Regions from separate parts of the Homo sapiens genome. Here region 1 is linked to region 2. Evidence: promoter capture Hi-C in 16 types of primary human blood cells and fetal thymus (Javierre and others, 2016). All regions are on one chromosome and are shown on one strand. The core of a region is centred on a gene start or on the middle of the fragment in contact, and the rest is flanking DNA. Distances in the headings are between cores, read along the strand shown.

Region 1 (4,766 bases), core at 2,187-4,686, 620 kb after region 2:
CCCAGGACAGATACCAAATAGAGTCCTTTATTTTTCATATGCAGAAAAAACAGATGATCAGCATGTAGAGCTTGGACCATATAACACAAAAACCTTTTGGATGACATTCTCCATGGAATCAACATGATTTGGGGACTTTGGCTGATCATAGTACCCATATATCTTTTTTTTGACAGCTTTGGGTGACTACTTTTTAGAAGGGGTGCCCAGCACAATCCCATTGGGACAATTCACATAAACCTTACTCTATGGCTGGAAAAGGTGGGGAAAACTAGTAGTGATTCTGCAAATGACATGGTTTACTCCAAACATGAGTTTGCTACTTCTTGAGGCTCCAAAAATGTCAGGGAATGGCTTTCCCTGTGATTAAGATACCCGTAGGGTAACTCAGAACTCTGAAATTTAAATTCCCCCTTCATTCTGGAGAAGTTACTACTGTATAATCACAAAATGATTATTCCATTTCTCTGTTTCCTTTTTTTTTTTAGACGGAGTCTTGCTCTGTCACCCAGACTGGAGTGCGGTGGCGTGATCTCGGCTGACTGCAACCTCTGCCTCCCGGGTTCAAGCCATTCTCATGCCTCAGCCTCCTGAGTAGCTGGGATTACAGGCGCCCACCACCATGCCTGGCTAATTTTTGTATTTTTAGTAGATACGGGGTTGTGCCATGTTGGCCAGGCTGGTTTCGAACTCCTGACCTCAGGTGATCCATCCGCCTTGGCCTCCGAAAGTGCTGAGATTACAGAAAGTGCTGAGCCACCACGCCCGGCCTTGTTTCTTGGATTAGTCTGCTATCTGGGAGAATAATATTAATTTATCCGTAAGCTATTAGCTAATAATAAAATACTGAAGCATCTGCATACAATTAAAGAAGTTTATTTCTGAACAATTAGTCTGAATTTTCAGTTGGAATCTATACTTGTTCCCATTTAATGAATTTCATCCTGAATAGTGATCTTTTGCAAGTTACTTTTAACAAAGTATAATCATATTTGACTTGTAATTGAGAACATGAGATTTAGGATTTATCAAGTTTCTCTTTGAAAGAAAATTTCATTTTTCTATTGGATAGTAATCTATTTACAATAACATTAACCAAAATCCCCCCAACCAATGCAAAGCAAACATTGATTGTGGCTTGGTCTGGAAACCTTTCATTACAAATTTAGCTGGGCCATTTAAAAACTCTTATAGGTGCAAGGCACTATGAGAGTTTCTTGGGGGCCACCCCATGACATATCAGAGCATATTAAAATGAACTCATACTGTACATTAAATATAATTTAAATGTAGCTCTGAACATTGAGTTGAATGGCAGGTGACTGGTACCTTTTCTAGGTATTTAAACAATGTTTTCCCAATTTTTCCATTTTCTTCTTTTATTTTGGAGCTAATAATTTTTGTTTTGGGTCCCAAACATTTTCTAGTTTTCTTGAAGAACTTGAGGTGGCAGACACTGAGTCTACAGAACCTAATAGATACAACAGCCTTAGAAATTAGTTCTTGTTTTCTTCTTACTTTTGTAATCAGATAAGCTGTCAACTGAGATCTGACAACTGAACTCCGGTTTTTTAGTTCATGAAAAAGAGCCACATGACTAGTTATTTTTCACTGTGTCAGTTAGCAGGTCTGATCCCTTGAGAAGGAAGAATTGATCTCTTAGGGATATAAAACCCTGCATGCCTTAACATCAATTATAAGTTGCTTCTCAATGTCAACCCGGGCAGCCATTTTTTTTTCCTCAGTAAAAATAGGGAAAACATAAATCAATGTGACAAAATGGTTCCAATTTGATGGCATCTTGGCATTTTGCTGCCTAATCACAACTGAGTGATATAATTCCTAAATGAGAGAATTTTAAGGATTACTTAGGTCTTGTGTATAAAGCTCTGAGTAGAGTTGAGTTATGCTTAGACTTGTGTATAAAGCTCTGAGTAGAGTTGAGTTTGGTCCTAGAGTTTCTCTGCCGTAATACTGCTTGGTTTTGCAAGAATTCTGGTGTGATGATTACAGATCTAGCTTTTTGCTTAGTTAATCAAACCAATATAGTTTCTTTGGCTAAAAGGAATTGATTCATCAAATCTGCAAGCTTTCCCAGCCAAACTCCAGGCTTCAGCTGGATTTCCACTTAACTGTACGGGGTAACAGATCCCAGGCGCCTTTGCTCATATACTTGGAGACCAACTTCGCCAAACTACCCATGCGACTCATGCCTCTGAATGTCCAAAGTCACAGGCCTCGCATTTTCTGTTGATGATAATCTGCTTTGCTAAAAGAAACTCCTGAGTGTAAGGCACAGGTTTTACTTAAAAGTCCAGTTGCAAAGCTTGAATTTACAGTTCTAGGGACACCGAATGCCTGACAATAAACTGGTCTCTAAAGTTATACCATGAGAATGAGTCTGAATTCACCAAGTGGAAAGAATAGGAATGCTGCCCTTAGACTTTAGCCTAGGGGCTGAGGGAGGTCTCGCTGGAAGAGAGGTAAAAGAGAAAAAAGAGGCTGGAGGGAATGTGGGTCCAAATCTCACTCCCCATTTTGAGCTCTTTCCACACCTCCAGTGAAACCGTCACAAAGGGGCTGGAAAGAAAACTTGATCCTGGTGCAAGTCTGTTGGGGAGGGAAGACAGGTGGAGTCCGGGAGGAGATGACAAGTGGCCTCCATTTAGCCATTGATTCATTCATTCATTCAACAAACGTTCTAGAACATACTAGGTTCCAGGCTCTGTGTCATGCAACGTTCTAGAACATACTAGGTTCCAGGCTCTGTGTCATGCAGTTGACTTAACTGGCCCCTAAGGATGAGGCTTTCCGTCTTTCTCCGGGACAAGGCCCAGCTGTCTCCCGGGCAGGGGGACAGGGGGTGCGGGTCGGGGAGGAGGGCTCCTCTGCGCCTCCCTGGTAGCCCAGGTAGCCACTCCCAGAGGGGCCACGACCAACCAGGGCCCTCTCCGCCCACGAGGACGCCAAGCAGACCGCGCCGCCCTGAACCCAGCTCTCAGCCCCCACTCTGCAGGACCCCGCAGAAGGGGCGGGCCGGGAGCCGGGAGGCCGGACCCTGCGCCGCTACCCGCCCGGCCCCGCCCCCACCTTCCGCCCCACCCCGCCGGGCTGCAGGGCTCTGCCTGGCCGGCGCCGACCCCGCCTTACCAGGGTTTTGGCTACGTTCCCCCTCTGGGTGATGTTTTTGCTGTGCTTCTCGTTAGCCATCCGGATCCGCTGTTTGGCCACCATGGCTTGTGCGCTCTGAAATGCTCCCACCTGCAAGGATTCCCCCTGCGTTAGCTCCTGCGACAGGGCCGAGCGCGTCCCGCCGAGGCCCCCGCGGCCCACCCGGGCGCTGCAGGTGGCAAGGCGTGGCCCCGAGCCCTGCGCACCCCGCTCCCCGAGCCCCGGCTAGCCGACTCCAGAGAGAGGCCGCAGCCCGGACGGAAGTAATCTCTCATCTCAGGAAACCCTTTCCGACTTCCTCGCCATCCTTCCGGTCCCCGCAGCCACCTACCCCGCGCGGCCACCGAGGCAGGCGCGACCGCACGTCCTCCCGCGCCGAGCGGCCGGAGCGCAGCGCGCAGAGCCGGGGCCCTGCAGTGTCGCGGTCCTGTAGCCGAATGCTGCGGGGCCGAAGGTTCGGGCGACCACGGCGTTTGTGAGCGCGTCGGGGACGGGGACGCGGCCCCTCCTGTGTTTGTCGGCCGGTGACCCACCCCAGCCCCGGGGAAGGGATGAGGGCGGCCGCGCTTCAGGCCGGGCCGCGCGGTCTCCCCTGCACCGCCGCCCCCTGGACGAGGGCTGGACCCAAGGCGGTGGTCAGGGACCTCAGAACACAAGTAGAACCAGTCCAGGCCCGGGCCCGCGCTGCCCGGGTATGGTCCACCAAACGAGCCTTCTCTTTAAGGGTCTCGAGAAGGGCCCCACGCTGGGGGACCCCACTGCAGAACTTTTCGTGAGGGCTGCAAGGAGGGCCGCGTTGTAAAATAAAGAGGAGACACGAAGCGGCATCCCCTGAGGGTTGGGGATCGGGCCGTGAGGATGGAGTTGGGACAGGCCTTTTTGCTTTGGTAGTTGTAGGGGTTGCATTGGAAGATGGGCCAGCGGCAGAGCGGAGCATGCAGGAAAGAGGAAGAGGCCTTGGACCTGCAGCCCAGGTCGGATTTGGTGGTTACTGTCTAAATCTGAAGCTTTGGCCTGCCTTGACTCCCCACCCACCCAGGGCAGCTTGGACCTCTCTCTAGCCACCCTTGTCCCGAGGGGTCTGAGTGTCTCCCAGACTAAACTGGGCATTTTCTGCAGTGGAAGGATAAAAATGGAAGCGTTTACGCGCCTCCCAGACACTGGTATTAGGGCTCAAGAGCTCTACAGATTGCCTGGGGAGGTAGGGGTGGAAGGGGTTCAGTTCCTCACTTGGAGTTAGCTCTTAGAAGCTCAGAAGAGTGGAGGCGAAGAGGGGACATTCAGCCTGGGAGATCTGGGGCAGCGGGAAGTGGGGATACCGGGTCGGGGTGAAGGCAAGCAGCAGCACCCCCAGCATGGGGAAGAAGGCCTGAGGCTGTCTCTGGCCACTGCATCTCTAGGCCTTCTCTTGGAGCGGGAGGTGGCTGGGTTTCCAGGGAATTTTGTGTGAGTAAAATTTTCCCATGTCATTGGAGAGTTAGGAAGAGCTCCTCTTTTGGGGCCTTTTTCCAAGCGGGTCCCCCTCACCCCGCTACAGGCTTCTTGTCACTCAGGCTTCAATAAAGGCCATTCTGGGGGCTGCTTGCTGTAACCTA
Region 2 (5,364 bases), core at 2,489-4,988:
CAAGGGTCCAGCAACAGATGAATAAACAAAATGTAGTCTATACAGTATATACATACACGGAATACTGTTGAGTCTTAAAAAGAAAGGAAATTCTAACGTGCTACAATAAGTAAAGCTTGAAAAAATTATGCTAAGTGAAATAAGCCAGTAACCAAAGGGCAAGTACTGTATGATTCCATTAAATGAAGTACCTAAAATAGTCCAATTAACAGAAAAAGAAAGTAGATGGTAGTTACCAGGGACTGGGTCAGAGGGGAGAATGGGGAGTTATTGTTTAATGGGAATAGGTTTCAGTTTTGCAAGATGAAAATAGTTCTAGAGATGGATGGTGGTGATGACCGCACAACAATGTGACTGTACCTAAGTGCCACTGACCTATATGCTTACAAATGGTTAATATGACAGATGTGTATATTTTACCAGAATAAACAAGAAAAAAAACTAGATGCATATATATGGTTGCCTGATTTATAAGGAAGGTGATAGTGGTGAAAGGATGGTCTGTTCAATAAATGGTGCCAGGATACCCTTACAGGGGCAAAAAATTTTCATCCCTATCTCACACCACACACAAATATCAATTCCAGATGAATTGCAAATATAAATGTGAAAGCTGAAACAATAATGCTTTTAGAAGAAAACACAGAAGAGCTTTATAACCTTGGGGTGGGCAAAGATAGCTTAAATAGGATGCAAAAAATTCTACCATAAAAGAAAAAAATTAAAAGTCAGAATATATTAAAATTAAAAACTTATGTTAATCAAAACATACCAACATGAGTGAAAAAACCACAGAATTAGAGAAGATATTTCTGATACACCTATCTGGAAAATGACTCATATCCAGACTATAAAAAGAACTCTATAAATCAATATGAAGACAGACAACTCAATGGAAAAATAAGCAAAAGACTGAACACAGCATGTATTCATATGGTCAAATAACACATGAAAAGGTGGTCAATTTCATTTGTCACCAGGGAAATACAAATTAAAACTACCATGAGATATTGCTACAAACCACCGGATTTAAAAGAAAAAAACTAAATATTAGAATGTGGAACAACTAGAATTCTCATACACGCTGAGAACTTTGGTGACTTTGGAAGCTGGGAGTATCTACCATAAGACATATACTACAATGCATAGCAGCACATTTTATAACAGCCTCCAAATGGAAATTACTCAAATGTTCATCCAACGTAAAATGGATAAATTGCAGAACATTCATCTAATGGATGACTATATAGCAATGTAAAGAAACAACCTATAATAATTCTGTTTGTTTAAAGACCAGATTATGAACTTCAACAATCTATAATAATGCTAATCTACATGAATGAATCTCACAAAGTAATGTAGTACCAAGATAGGAAGCCAGTTATGAAAGAGAAAACATGCAAAACGAATCTGTGATGCTATAAATCAAGGAAGCAGTTACCCTCTGGTTGTAGGAGGGGTGGTGATGCAGGTAATAACTGGAAGATGGTCCAAGTGCAGCTTCTATGGTGTGATATAGTGGATGTGAAGGCCATTGGTACTGGCAAACTTCTTAAAAATCCAGATAGATGAAATAAAAATGATATATGAAGATTTTTTGGCAACCGTTTTAGGTTCAGCCATCTAGGCGGTTATGAAGGGAATGGAATTATAGCAGGGGAGATTATGTGTTTAAAATGACACACTACGTGTAAGATATTGTGCTTGACGAAGAGAAGTCATTCAACAAATATATACGAAGAATCTTTTTCTTTTTTTTTTTTGAGACAGAGTCTCACTCTGTCGCCAGGCTGGAGTGCAGTGGCGCGATCTCGGCTCACCGCAACCTCCGCCTCCCAGGTTCAAGCAATTCTCCTGCCTCAGCCTCCCAAGTAGCTGGGACTACAGGTACGTGCCACCATGCCTGGCTAATTTTTGTATTTTTAGTAGAGACAGGGTTTCACCATGTTGGCCAGAATGGTCTCGATCTCTCGACCTCGTGATCCGCCCGCCTCGGCCTCCCAAAGCGCTGGGTTCACAGGCGTGAGCCACCGCACCTGGCCTTATTTTATTTTTTTAAAGCTATCTCCTACAGGAAGGAAAGCATAATTTTTCACATTTACTTTTATTTATTTATTTATTGAGACAAACTCTCGTTCCGTCGCCCAGGCTGGAGCGCAGTGGCACTCTCGGCTCACTGCAACCTCCGCCTCCTGGGTTCAAGCGATTCTCCTGCCTCAGCCTCCAGAGCAGCTGGGATTACAGGCGCCCGCCACCACGCCCGGCTAATTTTTGTATTTTTAGTAGAGATGGGGTTTCAACATGTTGGCCAGGCTGGTCTTGAACTCCTGAGTTCAAGTGATCCGCCCCGTCTCAGCCTCTCAAAGTGCTGAGATTACAGGCTTGTGCCACCTCGCTCAGCTGGAAGGCATAATTTTTAAAGTGGTTATGACAGAAATTATATTGGAAAGGGGCCTGTAGTAGAAACATAGCCTCCGGGTAGACCAGGAAGAAAAATTAGATTCAGAAATGGCAGGGTTACTCTTTCAGCTTTACTCTTCTCCAACTGGGTGTCGGTGCTAGTCTACAAATGTGAATAAACATTAAAGCAGATAGGTATGCATGCCGGAATCCGAGAAGCATTCGTTTCGTATATACCAAGTGCCTGTTGCGTGTTCAGGTAGAAGACCATAGTGCAATGGTGGAGACAGATTATGTCGACAAATTATTCAAATACAGTGTACTAAATATGCAATGTAATTAGGAAAAAACCCGAGGGCAAAAAGAAAGGCATGACAATGCTTCGGGGAATCTGGAAAGGTTTTATTGGTGTGACATTTAAGTTGGGCCTTGAAGGATGGGGAGAAGTTTGTCAGTTATGTTTAGGAATGCAACCAGAGGAAGCCCAGAAGCCTAGAGCGTTAAGGAATTGCGCAGCAACTCAGACTGGATTGAGTATTGGGCTGTGTTTGTCAGATGCAATAACAGAATGAGAGGCTAGGAAGGCAGGTCGGGGGCTGGAGAGAACAGGATCTGCAAGGTTCTTGTAATCAGAAGGCAATATGGCACAGAGGTTAAGAGAACCGCTTCCTTCTAAGTCGCGCTCCATCACTTGCTAGCAGTATGATCTAGACACTGGCATGGGCTTGGGCGTACCCATTTGCAACATGGGAAAATAGTTTTTTTCTTATACGGCTTAAATGACTGAGTGGGTATCAGTCAGTTAGGGCAGCGTGCAGCTCATATTAAGGCTAAATGAGAATGTATTATCATCACGAAGCCAAACCACGCCAAAGCTCGTTTCTAGGAGGGTCCCCCAGCCTCCTCCCCCCTGCTACTGTTTGGGAAGAGAAAAGTTCTCTCGGGTCAGGCCGCGCCCACTCCCCACTCCTCCGCCCTCCTAGGCCTCCGACTTTCTTCAGCGAGCAGGGCCCGGCCAGGGAGTGGGTAGATGGGCCTGGTGGGCAGCGGAGACGCCGCCGCTTACCAGGGCTCGGGTCCCGCTCTTCGTCCTCCGCTGTTCCGCGGGCCTTGAAGCCGGGCGGCAGGGCCGGTCCGATCAGGTCTCTTGCCATCCGCGGTGGCGGACACTGGTCACAGATATGAGTCTATCCACGAACGTCAACCCTATCCAAAAAGAATCCCGCGATCAGCAGCGAAGAATGGCAGGTTTCCCGGCGCCGAGAAATGACGTAAAGCCTGTGGTTGGCTGAGCCTTGTAGTTCACGGTAAAGGAAGTGACGCCTAATGCTTGCTCCACAGTCGCGTGCTAGACTCCGGACCCGCCAGTGGTATGGCTGAGCCGACTAGTGATTTCGAGACTCCTATCGGGTGGCATGCGTCTCCCGAGCTGACTCCCACGTTAGGGCCCCTGAGCGACACTGCCCCGCCGCGGGACAGCTGGATGTTCTGGGCAATGCTGCCGCCACCGCCACCACCACTTACGTCCTCGCTTCCCGCAGCCGGGTCAAAGCCTTCCTCTGAGTCGCAGCCCCCCATGGAGGCCCAGTCTCTCCCCGGGGCTCCGCCCCCCTTCGACGCCCAGATTCTTCCCGGGGCGCAACCCCCCTTCGACGCCCAGTCTCCCCTTGATTCTCAGCCTCAACCCAGCGGCCAGCCTTGGAATTTCCATGCTTCCACATCGTGGTATTGGAGACAGTCTTCTGATAGGTTTCCTCGGCATCAGAAGTCCTTCAACCCTGCAGGTAGGCTATTTTTCCACGTGAGTCGACCCCTTTACCTTTTTCCCCCGTTCTTTCCTCTCCCCTTTCTCTGCTTCCTCTCTCTACTCTGCCTTGCCTCTGCACTCTTGGAGTCTGGTCATTAGCATCTCAAAGCAAAGTGAGACCCCCGTCTCTACAAAAAAAATAAAATTAGCCAGGCATGGTGGCATGCCTGTGGTCGCAGATGCATGGGAGGCTGAGGCAGGAGGATTCCTTGAACCCAGGAAGTCGAGGCTGCTTTATCAACTAAGTTTATATAATATTGTAAATCCTTTGTTCTCAAAATATGTCTGACTAGAATGTTTTCCTGTTGACTGTTAATTCCATTTAGCAGTTATTTATTGAATTCCGACTATGTACCAGAATCTGGGTATATAGCAGTGAGCAGAACATACAAAAAATATTATGGAGCTTAATATTATCTCTCTTGTGTAGGAAGACAGACAATAAGCAAAATAAAATATTGTGCATTAGAAGGTTGAGTGGCATGGAGAGAGATAAAACAAAGAAGAATGGTAAGTAGTGCAGGATTTTCTTTTTTTCTTTTTTTTTGGAGACAGAGTGTCGCTCTGTCGCCCAGGCTGGAGTGAAGAGTAGCGCGATCTACTTCACTCCAGCCTATGCAGTCTCTGCAGAGAGGCTCACTGCAACCTCTGCCTCCCGAGTTCAAGCAATTCTCATGCCTCAAACTCCTGAGTAGCTGGGACTACAGGCCCACGCCACCACACCCGGCTAATTTTTTATATTTTTAGTAGAAAGGGGGTTGCCCCGTGTTGGACAGGCCTGTCTCTAACTCCTGAGCTCAGGCATCCGCCCGCCTCAGCCTCCCAAAGTGTTGGGATTACAGGCATGAGCCACCACGCCGGGCCAGGTAGTGCAGTTTTAAATGTCATTGTTAGTCATAAGGAAGGTGACATATGAGCGAAGACTTTAGGGAGGTGAGAGATCACAGCCATGCATACAACTGGGAGAATAGGGGTACGGGCAGAAGGAACTGCAAGTGCAAAGGTCTTGAGGCTTAGAAGCTATACATCAGAATGGGAACCAGTGTGGCTACAGAGGACTGAGTCTGGAGTATAATTGTAGAAGATGGGGGAGGAGGGTAAGACCTGGTATGTCTTTGTAGATCGTGGGACTTTGACTTTTACTGTTGTGAGGTGGG

What was found. Contacts are between HindIII fragments. The CHiCAGO score rates a contact against its expected background, and 5 or more counts as called.
Region 1: a contact is called between the fragment with the promoter of SERP2 here and the fragment with the promoter of NUFIP1 in region 2, in 9 of 17 cell types (M1 macrophages, fetal thymus, endothelial precursors and 6 more). The highest score is 10.1, in M1 macrophages.

Annotation. Positions count from the first base shown.
Region 1 is chr13:44,372,494-44,377,259 of GRCh38, reverse strand. SERP2 (stress associated endoplasmic reticulum protein family member 2) reads right to left here and starts at 3,436. Exons shown (of 3, transcript NM_001010897.3): 1 at 3,151-3,436. The coding sequence starts at 3,234. LOC105370297 (a long non-coding RNA gene) reads left to right here and starts at 3,694. Exons shown (of 2, transcript XR_001749858.3): 1 at 3,694-3,863; 2 at 4,063-4,766. The HindIII fragment of the contact is 1,852 bases long and covers 2,329-4,180 here.
Region 2 is chr13:44,987,845-44,993,208 of GRCh38, reverse strand. It overlaps NUFIP1 (nuclear FMR1 interacting protein 1), which reads left to right and starts at 3,738. Exons shown (of 10, transcript NM_012345.3): 1 at 3,738-4,184. The coding sequence starts at 3,773. GPALPP1 (GPALPP motifs containing 1) reads right to left here and starts at 3,671. Exons shown (of 8, transcript NM_018559.5): 1 at 3,467-3,671. The coding sequence starts at 3,554. RefSeq lists enhancers at 2,925-3,561, 3,488-3,677, 3,868-3,937, 3,562-4,200. The HindIII fragment of the contact is 7,208 bases long and covers 118-5,364 here.